Regions from separate parts of the Homo sapiens genome. Here region 1 is linked to region 2. The links are contacts of gene promoters, found by promoter capture Hi-C in blood cells and fetal thymus (Javierre and others, 2016). All regions are on one chromosome and are shown on one strand. The core of a region is centred on a gene start or on the middle of the fragment in contact, and the rest is flanking DNA. Distances in the headings are between cores, read along the strand shown.

Evidence for each region. The method cuts DNA at HindIII sites, captures the fragments that hold promoters and counts their contacts. A CHiCAGO score of 5 or more calls a contact.
Region 1: a fragment that was not itself captured here is called in contact with the fragment with the promoter of DNAL1 in region 2 in 6 of 17 cell types (M2 macrophages, M1 macrophages, erythroblasts and 3 more); the score reaches 10.2 in M2 macrophages.

What each region holds. Positions count from the first base shown.
Region 1 is chr14:73,864,638-73,870,783 of GRCh38, forward strand. All of the region lies in intron 3 of PTGR2 (prostaglandin reductase 2), which reads left to right. Among named protein-coding and RNA genes, the nearest start is that of PTGR2, 16 kb to the left of the region's middle. The HindIII fragment of the contact is 4,552 bases long and covers 55-4,606 here.
Region 2 is chr14:73,641,997-73,648,215 of GRCh38, forward strand. It overlaps DNAL1 (dynein axonemal light chain 1), which reads left to right and starts at 2,990. Exons shown (of 8, transcript NM_031427.4): 1 at 2,990-3,046. The coding sequence starts at 3,044. RefSeq lists an enhancer at 6,053-6,219. The HindIII fragment of the contact is 7,204 bases long and covers 2,248-6,219 here.

The DNA of each region.
Region 1 (6,146 bases), core at 1,081-3,580, 220 kb after region 2:
TTATCTGTGTTTTTATTACTGAGTTGTAAGAGTTGTTTATATATTCTTGATATAAGCTTCTTGCTGGATGTATGATCTATAAATATTTTCTTCTATGCTGTAGGTTGTCTTTTTATTCTCTTGATAGTATCCATTGAAGCACAAAAGTTTTTAATTTTGATAAAGTCCGATTTATCTCTTTTTTTGTTTGTCACGTATACTTTCAATACTTTCAGACTCATATCTAAGAAGGCTTTGCCTCACTTAAGGTCATGAAGATTTAGTCGTATATTTTCTGCTAAGAGTTTTATAGTTTTGCTCTAACATTTAAGTCAGTAACACATTTTGGGTTAAACTCTATGTATGCGTATGAGGAAGGGGTCTGTATTAATCAAGATTCTTTAGAGAGACAGAAACACAAACACACACATAGGCATGCACCCACAGACATGCACACACATATATATGAGAGGGGACTTATAAGAGGAATTGGCTCACAAGATTATGGAAGCTGAGAGTTCCCATGATAGGCTGTCTACAAACTGGAGAACCAGAGAAGCTGGTAGCATGGCTCAATCCAAGCTGGAAGGCCCGACAACCAAGGAAGCCATTGGTATACTTGTCAGTCCCAAGGCCTGAGAGCCCAGGAAGCCATGGGTGCAGTCTCAGAGTACAAAGGCTGAAGAACCTGGAGTTCTTATGTCAGAGGGCAGGAGAAGAAGGGTGTCCTGCTTTGCAGGAGAGAGAGAGAATTTGTCCTTCACCTGCTTTTTTGTTCCATCTGGGCTCCTTGTTGAATGGATGGTGCCCACCCACATTGAGGGCAGATCTTCACCACATAGTCCACAGACTCACCTGCTAGTTACCTCTGAAAACACCCTCAAGGACATATCCAGAAACAATGCTTCACAAGCCATCTAGGCATTCCTCTATCCAGTCAAGTTGACGCCTAAAATTATCCATCACAGGGCCCAACTCATTCTTTTTTACAATCTCAAACTCCCTGGGCTCAAGTGATTCTCCTGTCTCAGACTCCCAAGTAACTGGGACGATAGGTGCAAGCCACCACACCTGACCTAACTTCACTCTTTTGCAAGTGAATATACAGTCGTGTCAGCACTTTTTTTTTTTTTAAGAGAGACCAGAAATATTTGACCACGAAGGGACATGAACCAGCACTGTTTGTTGAAAAGATAATTCTTTCCTCATTGGTTTGTCTTAGTACTCTTGTTGAAAACCAACTGACCATAAATATGAGGGTTTATTTCTGGACTTTCAACTCTATTCTAGCAATCTGTATATCTGTCATGCTAGTACCTCGCTCTCTTAATTACTGTAGCTTTGTAATAAGTTTTGAAATGAGCAAGTGTGAGTCTTCCAATCTGTTTTTCTTTTTTTTTTTTTGAGATGGAGTCTTGCTCTGTCGCCAGTCTGGAGTGCAGTGGCGCTATCTTGGCTCACTGCAACCTCCACTTCCCGGGTTCAAGTGGTTCCCCTGCCTCAGCCTCCTGAGTAGCTGGGACTACAGGCACCCACCACCACACCTGGCTAATATTTTGTATTTTTAGCAGAGACGGGGTTTCACCATATTGGCCAGGTGGGTCTTGAACTCCTGACCTTCAGGTGATCCACCCACCTCGGCCTCCGAAAGTGCTGGGATTACAGGCATGAGCTACTATGCCTGAACAATTTTTTGTATTTTAGTAGAGACAGGGTTTCACCATGTTGGCCAGGATGGTCTTGATCTCCTAACCTTGTGATCCTCCCGCCTCAGCCTCCCAAAGTGCTGGGATTACAGGTGTGAGCCACCCCACCTGGCCTGTTTTTCTTTTTTAAGATTGTTTTGGCTCTTCTGGGTCCCATGAATTTTCATATGAACTTTAGAACCAGCTTGTCAGTTTCTGCACAGAAGATTTTGATAGGGATTTTGATAGGGATTGCTTTGAGTCTGTAGATCAATTTGGGGAGTATTGTCTTCTGTGATGGTTCATTTTATGTGTCCACTTAACTAGGCCATGGGATGTCTAAATAGCTGGTTGAACGTTATTTCTGGGTGTGTCTGCAAGGGTGTTTCTAGAAGAGATTAGCTTTTGGATTGGTGGACTGAAAAAAGCAGATGTCCTTCTCTAATGTGGGTGGGCATCATCCAGTCCATTGAGGGCCTAAGGAGAACAAAATGTAGAAGAAGGTTGCTGGGTGCGGTGTCTCACACCTGTAATCCCAGCACTTTGGGAGGCTGAGGCGGGCAGATCACCTGAGGTCAGACGTTCAGGACCAGCCTGGCCAACGTGGTGAAACCCCGTCTCTACTAAGAATACAAAAATTAGCCGGGTGTGGTGGCAGGCACCTGTAATCCCAGCTACTCAGGAAGCTGAGGCAAGAGAATTGTTTGAACCCGGGAGGCGGAGATTGCAGTAAGCCAAGATCGCGGCATTGCACTCCAGCCTGTGTGACAGAGCAAGACTCTGTCTCAAAAAAAAAAAAAAAAAAAACAAAAAAACAAAAAAAAGAAGAAGAAGAAGGTTGAACTAACTCTGACTGCTTAAGCTGGAGCATCATTCTTCTCCTGTCCTCAGAGTTCCTGGTTCTCAGGCCTTCAGATCTGGACTAGAATCTCTACTGTCAGCTTACCTGCTCTCATTCACTGGAACCACACTGCTGGCTTTTCTGAGTCTTCAGCTTGCAGATGGCAGATAATGGGACTTCTTAGCCTCTCTAACTGCATGAGCCAATACCTTATAATAAATCTCTTCATAGATATGTATGTATCCTGTTGGTTCTGTTTCTCTGGAGAATTCTGATGAAAACAATATCCTAATACACTGATCCATGAATGCATGATGTCTTTCTACTTATTTGGGTGTTCATTAATTTCTTTCTGTCTTTAAAAAAAAAAGATTTTAGGGGAGGAAAAATGATGGAACAACTAGGATTATAATATAAATTGAATTAATGATCTTCACTTCGAACACTCCCAACTTCAAAGCAAAAACAAAAACCAAAAAACCTCTTTTTCCTCCAGGGAAGTAAATATTTTGTCTACTTACTCATTTCATGCTAGAAAGCACAGTCTTGAGAATTTTGCCTCTACCAGGTCCTGTGGATCCCACCTCCTAAATACCTCTCAATTCAGTCCATGTCTTAGTAATTCCAGGGAAGTCTACCTAGTCTGAATCACCGTTGTTTCTTTCCTAATGGGGTAGGTACCCTTGCATACACACTTTGCCCCTTTAAGCCATTTTTCACACTGCAGCCAGAATGCCAGAGTGATTCTTCTTATAACAGCAACTAATTGTGTCACCTTGCTTAAAGTGGTTTAATGGCTTCCCATTAGTTTTGGAATTGAGACCAATCAGCCTTGACATGGTCTAAGAAGCTACATAACCTGGGCTAGGCACGGTGGCTCACGCTTGTAATCCTAGCACTTTGGGAGGCCGAGGTGGGTGGATAACCTGAGGTCAGGAGTTTGACACCAGCCTGGCCAACATAGTGAAACCCCGTCTCTACTAAAAATACAAAAAAATTAGCCAGGCGTGGTGGCACATGCCTGTAGTCCCAGCTACTTGGGAGGCTGAGGCAGGAAAATCACTTGAGCCCGGGAGGCCGAGGTTGCAGTGAGCCGAGATCACGCCACTGCACTCCAGCCTGGGCAACAGAGCAAGACTCTGTCTCAAAAAAAAAAAGAAGCTACATAACCTGACTCCTTTACCTGTCCAGGCTCAGAGAAGCCTGCCAATTACCCTCACACTGTTGCCTCAGTGGATGTCTGTCTTTTGTAACACATCAGTGCCCCCTTCTGCTTAATCTTTGTATGAATCATGTTTTTAATTTAGTGTATTTTAGGATGTTTTGACATCTTAGGGGGCTTGTGAATCCTAGAGTAACTGTCCCTGGCAGGATTTGCTTATTTTTAGAGATAACAACTTGCATTTGAGTCTTGCCATTCATATACAAACCAACCAATCCAAAGCCCATATCCCTAAACTCCTCCTCTATCTAACTCACACTCCCCTGCCTTAAATCACCTCAGGGCCAGATGCTGCACAACTTAAGAACCACCCCTGTATATCAGAGCCCTCTGACATTATTAAAGCTGTCATGTAATATACTCAAGGTTACCTACCCTGCCTTGCCCGTTCTTTCCTGTGGAAACCAAAGATACTTCTTCCTTAAAAAAAAAAAAGAAGACTCTGGGCCATGCTCTTCCTTGCTCCTTTGCCCTCTTGACCAACTCTTGTGCTTCCCCATGCGACCCTTCTTGGCATATTGTGCCCTCCCCTCTCGGCAACTGTAAGAAATTCTTCTTTCAAGGCAGTTGTCTTCGTATCTATCATTTTACCATACCTGGTTAAAACAGAGTCCCAGGTACATATTAAAGCAAGCCTTCATACATGTTGGCCCTCTATCTAAAAGCCTCTTCCCACTCCTTTCCCTTTACCTGGTAATCCCTGTTATTCCCTAGATGCCTGCTTTAAAGAGATTTCCTTTGGTAAATCACCCTGAACCCTCAGACTAGTCCAGACCTCTCTTTGATATTTTCCTCTTGACATTCAGCATTTATCCCAATTGAAAGTAATAATTACATTTGTGTAGTTATTAGATTATCTGTCTTCCTTAGTAAAAAGTAAGCTTATGGGCTGGGTGCCATGGCTCATACTTATAATCCCAGCACACTGGGAGGCTGAGGCAGGAGGATCACTTGACCCCAGGAGTTTGAAACCATCCTGGGCAACACAGAAAGATGCCATCAATACCAAAAAAAGGAAATTAGGTGAGTGTTAAGGTGCACCAGCCACTCTGGAGGCTGAGGCGGGAGGATCACTTGAGCCCGGGAGGTGGGAGGATCACTTGAGCCCGGGAAGTGGGAGGATCACTTGAGCCCAGGAGGTCGAAGCTGTAGTGAGCTGTGATCATGCCACTGCACTCCAGCCTGGGCAACAGAGTGAGACCGTGCCTCAAAAAAAAAAAAAAAAGTTTATGAAAACAAAGTTCGTATTTATCACTGTATCTCCAGTGACTAGCATAATGTTTATTAAATGTTAATTGCATAAAGGAAGGAAGAAAAATCACTTTGGGATACTTTCACTAGACATTCTCTATGCCTCATTCCTTTAAAAAAAATAATCAGGCTGGGCGAGGTGGCTCATGCTGGTAATCCCAGCATTTTGGGAGGCTGAGGCGGGCGGATCACTTGAGGTCAGGAGTTTGAGACCAGCCTGGCCAACATGGTGAAACACCGTCTCTACGAAAACTACAAAAATTAGCCAGGCGTGGTGGCATGTGCCTGTTATCTCAGCTACTCAGGACGCTGAGGCAGGAGAATCGCTTGAGCCGGGGAGGCGGAGGTTGCATTGAGCTGAGATTGTGCCATTCCACTGCACTCCAGCTTGAGTGACAGAGACTCCGTCTCAGAGAGAAAAAAAAAAAAGAATCAGCTGGGCATGGTGGCTTGGGCCTGTAATTCCAGCTACTTGGGAGACTTGAGGTGGGAGGATGGCTTGAAGCCATGAGTTCAAGTCCAGCTTGGGCAGCAACGCAAGACCCCAACTCTAAAAAATAGAAAAATCTTAAGCAACCTTTTTTTTTTTTTTTTTTGAGATAGAGTCTTGCTCTGTGCAGTGGCACAATCTTGGCTTACTGCCACCTCTGCCTCCCGGGTTCAAGTGATTCTCCTGCCTCAGCCTTCTGAATAGCTGGGATTACAGATGCCTGCCACCACGCCCAGCTAATTTTTGTATTTTTTAGTAGAGATGGGGTTTCGCCATGTTGGCCAGGCTGGTCTCAAACTCCTGACCTCAGGTGATCTGCCCGCCTTGGCCTCCCAGAGTGCTGGGATTACAGACATGAGCCACCACACCAGACCTCTTAAGCAGCTTTAAAAGGGAAAAGGGAGTCTAACAAACATTAAATAATTGAGATTTTATATCATTCCAAATTCACAACTAAAATTAATCATTATGTGTACACAGTATTTTACATGATTATCCTTAATGTGCATATACAACTTGGCTTTCATATTCTTTTTATTCTTTTTAAAATTTTTATTTTCATTTGACAGAGAGGAGTGTCTTACTGTGTTGGCCAGTCTGGTCTCAAAGTCCTGGCCTCAAGCGATCCTCCTGCCTCAGCCTCCCAAAGTGGTGGGTTTACAGATGTGCTTTCATATT
Region 2 (6,219 bases), core at 1,740-4,239:
AATTCTAATTTGAATTGATAAACTTCTCTATTATATAAACAACCTTAAGAATTAGTGCCTATCCTAGGGTTTAAGTTCTTTACAATTTTAAGGTATGTAACTTTTAACTATTTTGCTTAATCTCTAACTCATTTCTTAAATGTGACAATTTTTTCTTCTCTTTTGTTTGGTCCACATTTTTGCTTAAAAATTAAAGATTTCTTTGTTTTGTTTTGAGACAGGTTCTCGTTCTGTCGCCCATGCTAGAGTACAGTGGCGCAATCTTGGCTCACTGCAACCTCTGCCTCCTGGGTTCAGGCAATTCTCCTGCCTCAGCCACTCGAGTAGCTGGGAATACAGGCATGAGCCACCATGCCCAGCTAATTTTTGTGTTTTTAGTGGAGACGGGGTTTTGCCATGTTGGACAGGGTAGTCTCGAACGCCTGACCTCAAGTGATCTGCCCGCCTCGGCCTCCCAAAGTGCTGGGATTACAGGTGTGAGCCACTGTGTCAGGCCCTAAAAGTTAAAGATTTCTTAACATATTCTATTTGGTTCTGTTTTGTATCATTTAACACTATTTTACTTATACTTTTCAAAGGGTCTGCTAGATATTCTGAATTAGGGAACACTGTTTCAATACTATTTATTTATTTATTTATTTTTGAGACAGAGTTTCACTCTTGTTGCCCAGGCTGGAGTGCAATGGTGCGATCTTGGCTCACTGTAACCTCCGCCTCCAGGGTTCAAGCGATTCTCCTGCCTCAGCCTCCAGAGTAACTGGGATTACAGGTATGCGCCACCACGCCCAACTAATTTTGTATTTTTAGTAGAGACGGGGTTTCTCCATGTTGGTCAAGCTGGTCTGGAACTCCCGGCCTCAGGTGATCTGCCTGCCTCGGCTTCCCAAAGTGCTGGGATTACAGGCGTGAGCCACCACGCTCGGCCTTCAATACTATTTTTAAACTTTCTTTCAACTTATTTTATCCAGGCCTGAAATAAGAGCAAGCAGACCCACACATTCTCTGGTGAACAGGTTTTGGAATCTATTTTGTCATTTTGTAGGATATGAAAGAACAAAAGAAGGGTCCAAGTTATATAATTCTTTTATTTTCTGTGTGAATGTTTTTAACCTTTGAGAATCTGGAACTCAAAATGTTCTTTATGTGAAGTGTACCAAGATTTTGAAACCTATCCAATAGTCCCATAGACAGTTTTTTAAAAAATAAACATAGAAATTGACCCTTCCGGTTTTAAAGCTTAAAATTTAGGTATCCCCCAGACATCTCAGAAAGTATCAAAGAACTTAAACTTACCAGATCACTACATATGAATTTTGGTGTACCACCACTCAGTCCACAGCAAACATTAAACCCTCATAATATCCTTTTAGATATATGTTTATATACGTGTGTGTACTATGTATAACTTTTCCATTTTTTTGCTTTGTTTTTTGTTTTAGAGACAGGGTCTGGCTCTGTTGCCCAGGGTGGAGTGCAATGGCACAATTAGAGCTCACCTAAGCCTCAAACTCCTCAAATGATCCTCCTGCTTCAGTCTCCCCAGTAGCTGGGACTATGGGTGTTGTACCACCATGCCTCGCTAATTTTTATTTTTTACAGAGCCAGGGTCTTGTTACGTTGCCCAGGCTGGTCTTGAACTCCTGGGTTCAAGGGATCCTCTTACTTTGGCCTCCCAAATTTCTGGGATTACAGGCATGAACAAACTGCACCAGGCCACTATGTATAATTTTAAAGGAAAATCGTACCAACTATTTTGTTTGGTAACTTCTATTTTTACTTGAAATATGACTATCTTTGGATGTGAATAGATGCCTTTCAGCAAGTCAATTGTACTTTTTTAGTGTAAGTACATTATTGCATTGGATGTTCAATACTACTAACCAATTTTCTCTCTCTTTTTGTTTGTTTGTTTGTTTGTTTTGAGACGGAGTGTCACTCTTGTTGCCCAGACTGGAGTGCAATGGCGCGATCTCGGCTCACTGCAACCTCCGCCTCCCGGGTTCAAGCAATTCTCGTGCCTCAGGCTCCGGAATTGCTGGGACTACAGGCGCGTGCCACCACACCCGGCTAATTTTTGTATTTTTAGTAGAGACGGGGTTTCACCATGTTGGCCAGGCTGGGCTCAAGTGGTCAAGTGGTCCGCCCTCCTCAGCCTCCTAAAGTGCTAGGATTACAGGCGTGAGCCACCAGTCCCGGCCACCAATTCTCTTTTGTTGATAATTGAGTTGATTTTTTTTTTTCTATTAAAGCTTTGAACATACATCTCTGTGCTCAGGATAAAGTCCTGGAAGTGGAACTGCTGGATCACAAAGGGTGCAAAAGTTTTTGAACAGCCAACAGCCTTCCAGAAAGGCTGTATCAATTATAAACAGCAGCGTATTTGTGTGTCCCTACTTCACCATACCCCTAGCAACTCTATGAATTATTATTATTGTTAATAATTTTTAGCTCATTTGGTAGGTGGGGAAAAAAAGACACCCTGGTGATTAAAACCAACAATTTGTGATATTTAAAATGTGGAACCGAGCTTTCAGCTGCCTCTGGCTCCCTGGAGGATCCGGGGTAAAGAAACATAAAATGGGTGGAGTTTGGCTCTGGTATTCTCAGTGGGATGGGATGGAGAGGGAAATTACAGCAAGCCGCTTATTCTCCCCTCGTCCGGAAAAGGGTGGGAAACGCCATCGTTAGGGCAAAGGAATTAAGAACATTATTTTATGAAAAGGGTAGTTGTTAGGGGGACGTTTTAAGGTTTTTAACTTTAGGCGGACAAGTCACTACAGATCAGCTGAAATTGCTTTCGGTCCTGACTACTCCTGTGCGGGGTTAAGACCTAAGGAAGCAAAAGGGCAGCCAGCAACAGCCGGACGGGAGGACCCCGGCGGCCGCCACGCAGTCCCACAATGCCCCGCTCGCACCACCCTGAGGGCGGAGAGAAAGGACCGCTGCCGGGGATAGGGCTTCCGCCGAGAGCGCCGAGAAGTGCGCACGCGCACTGACCCCGCGGGCCCTAGCAACCAGAGCAGTGACAGTAGCAACCGCCGGAATGGTGAGTACCTTTCGGGCCGCGTAGCCAAAGCTGAGAGAAGATTGGGAGTGGAAAAGGGTGACTGTGGAGTGTTGAGGGTCTGGGGGTCCTTGAACAGCGGAAGGGAGCCGGTAGCTGACGCTAGCTCTGTGGAGTCAGGGGCCCGAGGCGAAAGAGAAGCCCTGGCCGGGGGTGGTCTGTGGTGAGGGCGGCCTGGGGTGGATCGGAGGTTGGGTTAAGGTGGAGGGACTCAGACAGGAGAAAAGGGAGGGCGAAGAGCAGGAAATTCTCTAAAAAGAGCGTATTGGAGTGGGAAGGGTGATGGGAAGGAGAGTGTAGATAAAGATATCTCTTTACATAGAAGTAATTTTAGTGACCCCCCCGTCGAGATGCAGGGAGGGGCTGGTTACCAGAGGGTTCTGTATAACACGGATTGCAGCAGTTTTCGTAACCTGTGATGTACCCAGGTTGCCTTCTGAATGACTACGAGGGCAGTTATTAGGTGACACTGTAAAGCACACTCTGATGGATATATTAGAGCAGTGATTCTCAAATTTCAGTATGCATAGGTATGGGCTTGTTGGAATGCAGATTGTGAATTTTTAATATGATTGGGGGTTTCAGGAATGTGCATTTCGACAACACACCTCAAGTGATTATAAAATTGGAGGGCATCCCACCACACTGAGAAATGCTGTTGCCTTAGGTTTGAAATCTACCAGCTGTCTATCCAATGAGAGCTCTTTATGAAGTAATGGTTTTACCTAGAGATGCTCCTCAACTCTTACTTGATGTGTTCACTCTCTTGCTTACATACTTGGTAGTTCTAACTAGTCGTTTGAAAAGGATTGCAGACCCAGCCAGAGCTATTGAGCAAAGTATGTGATGTCCTACTGGATAGAGATGTTTATGAAGAAGAAGCATAATTACTTGTCTTCTTTTTGTGATTCCAGTGCTATATAAGTGGGCAGAAATTGAGCCCAGGAGATGGAAATGATGAGGAAGTCATGCCTGCCCTCAACAAGATGAAATACCACTCTTTAAAAAGTAGTTTCCCCCCTGCTTTCCTTACTTTGTTCCCCAAGCAGTTAGCTGAAAATCACTGCCAAGGAAAGTTAAAAGTTCTGGAACCTAGGTTTATATTCAGGTGAAGAAAGGCTCAGACCTAAATATTTATGAAAGTATGAACCATGGTGATTGTTGAAAATCTTCAAATAGAGAATCAGAACCAGTACAGTTATAAGTCACTTAATGATGACAGGGATACATTCTAACAAACACATTATTGGCAGTTTTGCCTTGCAAACATCATAGAATATGCTTACAAAAACCAGATGGTGTAGGCTATTGCTCCTAGGCTACAAAGTTTTACAGCATTTTACTATACTGAATACTGTAGGCAGTTGAAACAAGGTATTTGTGTATTTAAACATAGAAAAGCGGCCAGGGTGTGGTGGCTCACACCTGTAATCCCAGAGGCCTGTAATCCCAGCACTTTGTGAGGCCGAGGCGGGCAGATCACCTGAGGTCAGGAGTTCAAGATCCACCTGGCCAACATGGTGAAACTCCGCCTCTACTAAAAATACAAAGATTAGCGGGGCATGGTGGCGAGTGGCTGTAATCCCAGCTACTCAGGAGGCTGAGGCATGAGAATCTCTTGAACCTGGGAGGTGGAGGTTGCAGTGAGCTGAGATCGCACCACTGCACTCCAGCCTGAGCAACAGAGCAAGACCCTGTCTCAAATAAACAAACAAACAAACATAGAAAAGTTACAGTATTACAATCTTATGTAACCACTGTCTTATATGTGGTTGGTTGTTAACTGAAACTTGTTATGCAGCTCATGACTGTATTTAGAACTGGCTTAGTCTGCAAACTAGCAGACCTGGGTCCCTCCAGAAATATTGACCCACATAGTATTTCAATTTAAAAAAATTTATCTTTCAGTGTCTTTTTTTCCCCCTTATGACCTGCCACTTCAGGACAATGTCTTCAAATGATGATATTTCACATTAAAACCAAGATTTCCAATTTCTCTTGAAAAATAAATATTGGGGCAGGGCACGGTGGCTCACACCTTTAATTCCAGCACTTTGGTAGGCCGAGGTGGGCGGATCACGAGGTCAGAAGATCGAGACCATCCTGGCTATCATGGTGAAACCCCATCACTACTAAAAATAGAAAAAAAAAGAAATTAGCCAGGCGTGGTGGTAGGCGCCTATAGTCCTAGCTACTCGGGAGGCTGAGGCAGGAGAATGGCGTGAACCCGGGAGGCGGAGCTTGCAGTGAGCTGAGATTGAGCCACTGCACTCCAGCCTGGGCGACAGAGCAAGACTCTGTCTCAAAAAAAAAAAAAAAAAGAAAAAGAAAAAGAAAAAGAAATATGTTTCACCATTGGACACTTTTTTTCACATTTTCGTATTACTGAGATATAGTGTGTTATAACTGGCAGCATCTTTTCTTACTTAATGATACATAAAATAAAGGTGTTACTCAATGGAGTTTTTAAATTTGAAGAAGTATGGTGTATTAGGGTAGCTCTTTTCCCCAAGTCCCACCTGCTAACAGTTGTCTGGAGCTGAGTAGAGGTTATCTTCTTTACACTAGTCCTGTCCTTAGTTGGCCAGTTTTACTTATTAGTTAAGTCCATGAGGACCTTCAGGCATTTGAGTTTTTGACTCCTTCTATCCATAGGAAAACCAGTTAAACCTTATACAAATTTATATTGCTGCAATAAACAGCTAGATGGCTTCAACTCTTTTTCTACTAACAGTGTTGTGAAAATACTTTTTTATGGACCCATGCAAAAGATTTCTCTTGGAAACACACCCAGGAGTGGGATTGTACCGTCATAGGGTCTATGTATACTTAATTTGCCTAGGTACTTTTCAGGCTGCTTTCCAGAATGGCTTGACCAGTGTTTACTTCCTCCGGCAGTGCAGGAGAGTTCCATTTCTTCTTGTTTGTTCGTTTTGATACAGAGTCTCGTTCTGTCGCCCAAGCTGGAGTGCAGTGGCACAATCTCGGCTCACTGCAGCCTCTGCCCCTAGGGCTCAAGTGATTCTTCTGCTTCAGCCTCCCGAGTAGCTGGGATTACAGGCACTCACCACCACGCCCGGCTAATTTTTGTATTTTCAGTAGAGATGGAGTTTCCCTATGTTGGCCAGGCTGGTCTCAAACTCTTGACCTCAAGT